Regions from separate parts of the Homo sapiens genome. Here region 2 is linked to region 1. Evidence: promoter capture Hi-C in human tissues and cell types (Jung and others, 2019). All regions are on one chromosome and are shown on one strand. Each heading gives the region's core, a stretch centred on a gene start or on the middle of the fragment in contact. The rest is flanking DNA. Distances are from core to core; before and after follow the strand shown. Region 1 holds the start of AFTPH (aftiphilin). Region 2 has its middle 26 kb from the start of MIR4433A.

Evidence for each region. Contacts are between HindIII fragments. The study calls those that stand out against the background at their distance.
Region 2: a fragment that was not itself captured here is called in contact with the fragment with the promoter of AFTPH in region 1 in 1 of the 25 tissues and cell types used here (aorta).

The regions. Positions count from the first base shown.
Region 1 is chr2:64,522,579-64,525,829 of GRCh38, forward strand. It overlaps AFTPH (aftiphilin), which reads left to right and starts at 1,750. Exons shown (of 10, transcript NM_203437.4): 1 at 1,750-2,034. AFTPH-DT (AFTPH divergent transcript) reads right to left here and starts at 1,577. Exons shown (of 1, transcript NR_136167.1): 1 at 1-1,577. It overlaps MIR4434 (microRNA 4434), which reads left to right and starts at 2,935; the gene lies at 2,935-2,987. RefSeq lists enhancers at 1,307-1,526, 1,628-2,128, 2,129-2,629 and silencers at 1,727-1,886, 1,917-1,996, 2,007-2,256. The HindIII fragment of the contact is 9,621 bases long and covers 1-3,251 here.
Region 2 is chr2:64,312,860-64,316,110 of GRCh38, forward strand. No RefSeq gene overlaps it. Among named protein-coding and RNA genes, the nearest start is that of MIR4433A, 26 kb to the right of the region's middle. The HindIII fragment of the contact is 4,884 bases long and covers 1-3,251 here.

The DNA of each region.
Region 1 (3,251 bases), core at 500-2,999:
ATAAAATGTCATGAGCATTAGGGCACTGTCTTCGGAATTACATGTAAGATTACCAATTACAAGTTAGTTGGCCAAATAGGTACTCAATTTCCCTATTACAAAATTGTAAGCTGATGGGGGGTGTGCAATTTAATTTAATTTTTTTTTAGACAGGGTTTCACTCTGTCGCGCAGGCTGGAGTGCAGTTTAAATTCATTTAGTTTAAACATGTTCTTAGTGTAGGGTCTGCTTTAAGGTCTAGTCATATGTTCTTATTTTGATATTTCTGTTTAGTAGAGCTGTAAAATGAAAACAAGCATGTGTTCGTTTAAAATCAATTTCTAGTTTCTACACACACACAAATTCAAGCTTGCACACGAGCTAAACCAGCAGGGGGCGAAATACAATAGGCATAAATTTGACAAGCCATATAGATTTTTCTTACTTTAGTGACTGAGCAATAACACAAAATCCAGCATAACCACAAAGCAATTGATACTCCCATTTAAAGTGATGCAGTCTCCGTATATCTTACAGCGATTGAATAGTAAAGAGACAAATGCGGGTCCATTGGAGCGCTCCGAGTTAATTTGTCTAGAACATTGCAGAGGCGGGATAAATCGTGATGAACTGCTATTGTCCTTATCTTTCTCCTGATTTGTATAATTCCTCCACCCAAAGGGGTGGACACTTCTCTGTGCCTGAGGGGATGTTTTCCATTCTTGTTTCTTTGCGTAACTGCTGAGCTTTGCTGTTTTGGAACTATTTTAAATTATTCAAATTACTGATGCAGACGTTTGGCAAATATGGGCAGAATGAGGGGCCGGCGGGGGTCATGATTTGTAGGACCCCGGGCTCATCATCCGAGACAGTAATCATAATCCTGTAGCCTTGTAGTCTGATTGTTACACTGGCAGGTGTTCTAACAGATATTCATTGTAAAGGAGGAGGAAAGGTAATATTTTTATTACCTTTATATAAATAACAGTTGATTATATAAATAATCAACTGTTCAGGACTGATGATGGAAACAAAATCGGTTACGACCTCTGTTCCAGAAATGCGTTTGAATGCATAAGTTTATGGTGATCTCTTTAGCTTCACTAGATATTCTCCGTAAGGGTCTATGAAAAACGACCACCTTCTCCATCCATTAGCCAAATTCCGGACTACTATTTTCTTGTCGGTCTCGAAGACGATTTGTCAGTTTGGCGGCTGCTTTCCCACCTTAAATTCTATTTATCGCAACCTCTTGTTATTTGTTAAATATCAGCTTCTTCCTCTGTCGGCATAAATTTAAAAAGAGGAAGAGACAGGCTGTGAATGAAAAAGTCGTTTTTCGGGGCGAAAAGGGCAAGCTGACGAATGCTCTCTAGTAGGTTTTTGGTAAAAATGTGGTTCTATATTTCCAAACCTTTACAATTTTATTTGGAGAGCAAGAGACTTAATCCGGTCTTGAGCTGAACGTTAACCGGCTGAAAGGAGCACCTGTCCTTCGCCAGGAGCGCAGCCTCAACCGGCGCCTGAGTGCGGGAAGACGTCTATCCCCCTACAGCTCTATGACTCGCAAGGAAGTAAAAGGAAAGGGCAGCTTGCCCGCACCCAAAATGGCGGTCGGCGCTCTGCACGACAGCGCCTGCGCAGGGATAAGCGTTCTGTGACACCAATTCCCCTGGAGTGTCCTCCCCCACCCCACAGCACCCACCAGCGCCCGGTCCCGACCTAGCCACCTGCGCCCGGAAGTGACGTGTCGGCGGCAGCGGTTCCCCCGCTGCATGATGGGAGAGTGTGTGGAGTGGGCGGGGGGTCTCCGCGGAGGAGGTGGAGGAGGCGGCGGCGGCGGCGGAAGAGGGCGGAGGGTAGTGGGATGGGGGTCCCGCGGCAGCGGTGAAACTCCGGGTGGGCGTCCATGGTGCTGCTGCGCTGACAGGGCTGTGAGCAGCCGGCCTTCCGCTCTCACCAGTTCCGCGTCGGAATAGACGGTCCTTCCCCGGGGAGTCAGTTCCTCCCCGGGCCCCTGAGCCATGCCCATCGCAGCCGCCCCGAAGGAGCCAGGTAAGCGCCGCCGCTCCGCTCCCCTAGCTGCGCCGGGGAAAGAGGGTGCGGGGACCAGGCCCGGCCCAGCAGCCAGACCCTCACCCGGGCCGGGAGCATCTGCCCGCCGCGGAGCCGGGAGCTGTGAGGACGGAGCTGGCTCTGCGGGCCTGCGGGCTCCCGGCTCTGCTCTCTTCTGCGGCGAGTGCGGGAACGCCGCTGGTGGCGCCCGAAGCGCACGGCCCCCTCCTCGCCATCCCGGGCACCGGCCGGGTAAGTGGGAGTCCTTCCCTCCCCGGCCACCGCCGGCTCTCCCTGCCCCTTTGCTTCCACCTCCCAAAGCTCCGCGCTGGCTGCGTTCTCCAGGGAGCTGTTCAGAAGTTTGGGGCTTTGCTTGGGCTTCTTCGCTCTCCTTCCCCCTCCCTCGTGACAGGTGTAAACACTGCCTCCTTCACCGAGGCCCGAGGCTGGCCGCGACCTGAGTGTGCTGCTTCCAAGGGTCTCTGAAGCAAGCGAATTTGGAATCCTCCAACAGGCAGAGGGGACAGCCCCAAAGCTCACGCATCCCTTCCTCAGAGTACCTTTTCTGCTGTCTTCTTGCACTCTTCAAGAAATTATCTGCGTCTCCTCTCCAGTTTGCGTTTGAAAAGTTGGACCATATTCCTTAAGTGCCTGGTTTGGCAGGTGCTGCGTCTTGCTTGGGGCAGAGGCAGAGTATGGAGTGAGGGGTGGTAGGGTCCTTGCTCTATTAGGAAAGTAATGGGGATAGCAAGGTTTTTTTTTCCTTGTTGCTTTGTGCAAGTTATAGCTTGGTTATACTGAATCTTTTCTGTTGGGGCCGAGGGAAGAACTGACTCATACATGTAAATTTTTTACTGGGCGGGGGGATGAAACAAAAGTAATGGTTCCGTTTCAAAGTTCTCACTTTAGGAGAAGTAAAGTAGAACTTTGGTTTTCAACTTTTCCTACAGTGTAAGTCTTCCTTCCACCTCCTATTCCGAGGATTTTATTTGGTGGAGGGGAGACACAGAGTTTATCTTTGATGCTACACTTAATTGTTGCTTTCAGTTAACCTCTTAGACATTAAAATATATGCTAAACTCTAGGGACAACAAATGTTTCAACATTATTATGTTAATATAATTAACACAGTCACGTACATTTTATATGCTTTACCAGTTTAAATGTTGGCTTTTTTAGTAGTCATTTTTAACACTTCGCAGAGGTATATTTGTTTA
Region 2 (3,251 bases), core at 381-2,880, 210 kb before region 1:
CAATCAGCAGTTTGGGACTAACGTATCTCCTCTTCCAGATAACATTCGATCCTACCTGGAGCTTCACGGAGTTGTGCCCTCATCTAAAAGGAGGCTGTGGGGGAATGTTTGAGGCGCCGTCTGGCCCCGGGGGGAGACAGTTCAGTGTAGGGCGTCTCTCAACAGCACCAGATGCATACAAGTCTGAAGTCTTGGAGCATCAGGACTTTTTTTTTTTTTTTTCAATTTTGCTCTGAGCTTTTTGGCGACTATCCTTGCTCAAATAAGTTTTTCTCTAAGTTTCTAATTCATAGGTTTGTCATGATTCACATTTAAAACAAATTTTAATCATTCCCACCTCCCCTCCCCCCCCGCCCTTAAGTGTTGTAGCAGCTTTTCCCCTGGGTGGAAAGAAACCTGGAGTCTGTTCCAAAAACTTTGGAAAAGGAAGCCCGGATCTCTCCAGTGCTCACTATATACTTTCCATGCACGGGAGTGGTTTACTGTAGCAAAGAGTATTTTGTTATGCCTTCTGGGTAATTTTGTGCAAAAATTTACAATGTCAAGGGAACATGGTTATTAGGAGCAAACCGTACAACTCCTTATCTGTTTCTCCACAGGCGCTAGCCATGGGGTTCAGAGCCAAGTGCCAGCTCTTCCTGCTAAAAATGTTCTCAATTTGGTCTCCGCCAGCAGTGAGGACAGCAGTGTGAATGTGTGAATTCTTGCTCCAAACTGGCTAGAACCAAGTTTTGTAAATGTCATTTCTTGGGATGCTGTTTTATCTGAGAAATCACATTTCACCAGCAGCACTGAAACTAGCTGATGATGCCATAATAAGTTCTGACTCCTGCAGGGAGAAGCTCTTTGAGGCCCTTTTTCAATACAGCTGACATGTTTTTCATTTAAGAGCCTTTTTAGGACAAGTTTAAACTCTCACATCACTCTATAAATCTTATGAAATGAAAATCAAATTCAGTACAGTTACAAGCTGTTCAATTCTATCTCCTTTATAACATTTATAACTAATATAACAGAAAATTTAAAAACCCTCTTTTGTGCTTTCTACCAAGGCGGCAATATGGACTCAATATACACAAAATGTAGAACTGAAAATGAATTACATGTTTAAAATACAGATTTTTACACAACAAAACAACAGTCCTGGACCTCCTCCTCCTTAAAAATTAATGTCATAATCTCCAAAGCATTTTTGGTCATGCAAAGTCACTATCAGATAAACCTCAAATTCATAATTTCAAGATAAGAGACACTGCCTCAAAATGGAAGAAAATGTCTTCTTCTAGAATCATTAGGTATATTATTTTACTTGGTAGGTTACTTGAAGCCGGCAGTTAAACTGGTCCCTAGATATTTATTAACCTAAGAAAAGACACGGGAAAATGTACTTCATACAGTCTTCAAGCAGATACTCCACTGTTTTAAAATGAATTTCATTAAGGCTTATACTCAATACACCTACTATACATGTGTATTTAAAATATAGTTTTTCCACTAATTGCAAGATTTAGTGAAAATGTGGCTTTGGCAGGCAATGAATAATAAGTATGCTACATATTCAGTAAAGTTAAAGTTGGGCTTGAAAATAACCATTTATTTATTGTTCAGATTACAATAAAATCTTGTTTGCCTGGAACTCAGGCTACTAGGAATATCAAATAAGAGAAATGTTTTGGAAATGTTCTGCTTTTACAGTTGTTAGGATGTGACTAGTAACTAAGTTGATAAAGAGGTGTATGTAACTAATAAAAGCAAAAACTTCTAGGTTGCACATTAATAGCTGTGTAGCTTCACCCCAGGCTCTTCGCCATTTGAGGATATAGTCCTCTGTGCAGTTTCATGCTCATGGGAAGACCCTGGATGGTTCTGAAGGGTTGTGTGCACCCAGTGCCTAAGTACAACGCCCCCAGAGCAAAGAGGTAGAATATGGTAGTAGCTAAGTATGTGGACTCCAATGCCAGTCAGTCTGAGTTCAAAACCCAACCATACCACGTACTCACTGTGTGACTTTAGGCCACATTGTCAACCTCTTTAGCCTCAGTTTCCTTATTATGTAAATAAAGTTATATCATTGGATTGTGAAGACTATACTAGTGTAGAGTGTCTAGCAGCACGCAGGCACATAGAAGGCACTCAATAAATGTGAAGATTTTTATTCCCAAATGATCCTTTTCCAATGGGTCCCAAGCTTCAGTCTATATCTTAGTTTGACTAGAGATGTGATAGAACCATATTCAGGAGAATTACCAAGGAAACACCTGTCACCTTTCTATTACCCCAGGTGTAGCTCCTAAAATTCCATCACTTGAACAAGTGTAAACAGAGAATATATTTGGACATTAAACATAGTGTTACTATTAGCAGAAACAACATCTAACACCTTTCTGCAAGTGTTCCATGTTCTGTCTCAGGAGCCAGTTGGGATATGGGATTCTGGCCCATCTAAAACCCAGAATTCCCAAACGCCTGTTCTGAATGTCTCCAACCACCAGGATCACCAATCCACTTTGGCCCTCTACCAACTACAGATTTTCTCACTCCTCCTAATGATTGCGTACTCTTGATTTAAGAGAAGCAGTTCTCCTTTAATCCAAGCCAAGTTAGAGAAAGCATGAAAGAAACATTCACTTCTCTTCCCAACTTGGCTGTCAGGTTTTTGGGAGTTGGCCAGGAGGAAAGATGGTCCCACGAGGAACTGCAAAACCAAGTGTCAACTGCCTGGATGCCGCAGGCCATACACACTTCTGGGGTAATGCTTTTCTCTAACATTCAAGTGAAGTGGCAGGAACCCCCATCCCACATTTGGTGGAAGCCAGCATGTCTCTTCCCACAAAGTTTGCTGGAACTCTTGAGGACCTTCCCGTTCTCCTAGTCTCCTCTTGCTCAGATTTCTCCATTCCTCTGCACTCCTGAGTGAACCCCGTGTCTTTCCTTCTAAGACTGCTGTGTTCCTCATATTGCTTTGTCCCATGTTGGATGCTGCCCCAATTCCTTAGCTTTCTCCAAAGCACCATCCACACAAGGCTGGGCTGTGCAGCAGTGTTTGGAGCAAGCAAGGGGTTGTCTGCAGTACAGCTCAACACAGGGACAACAGTTGCCATTGATGAGAAAGCCCATCCATTATTCCTGCCCTGGGGACTGTCCTGCTGACTGTATTACCCCTTAGGCCCATCCTGATGCTGTTTTCTCAGGTCCCTTCTTCTCTCTCCAGGTCCTTCTCCCTTCTCTAAGAGCCAGTCTTCTCCCCCAAA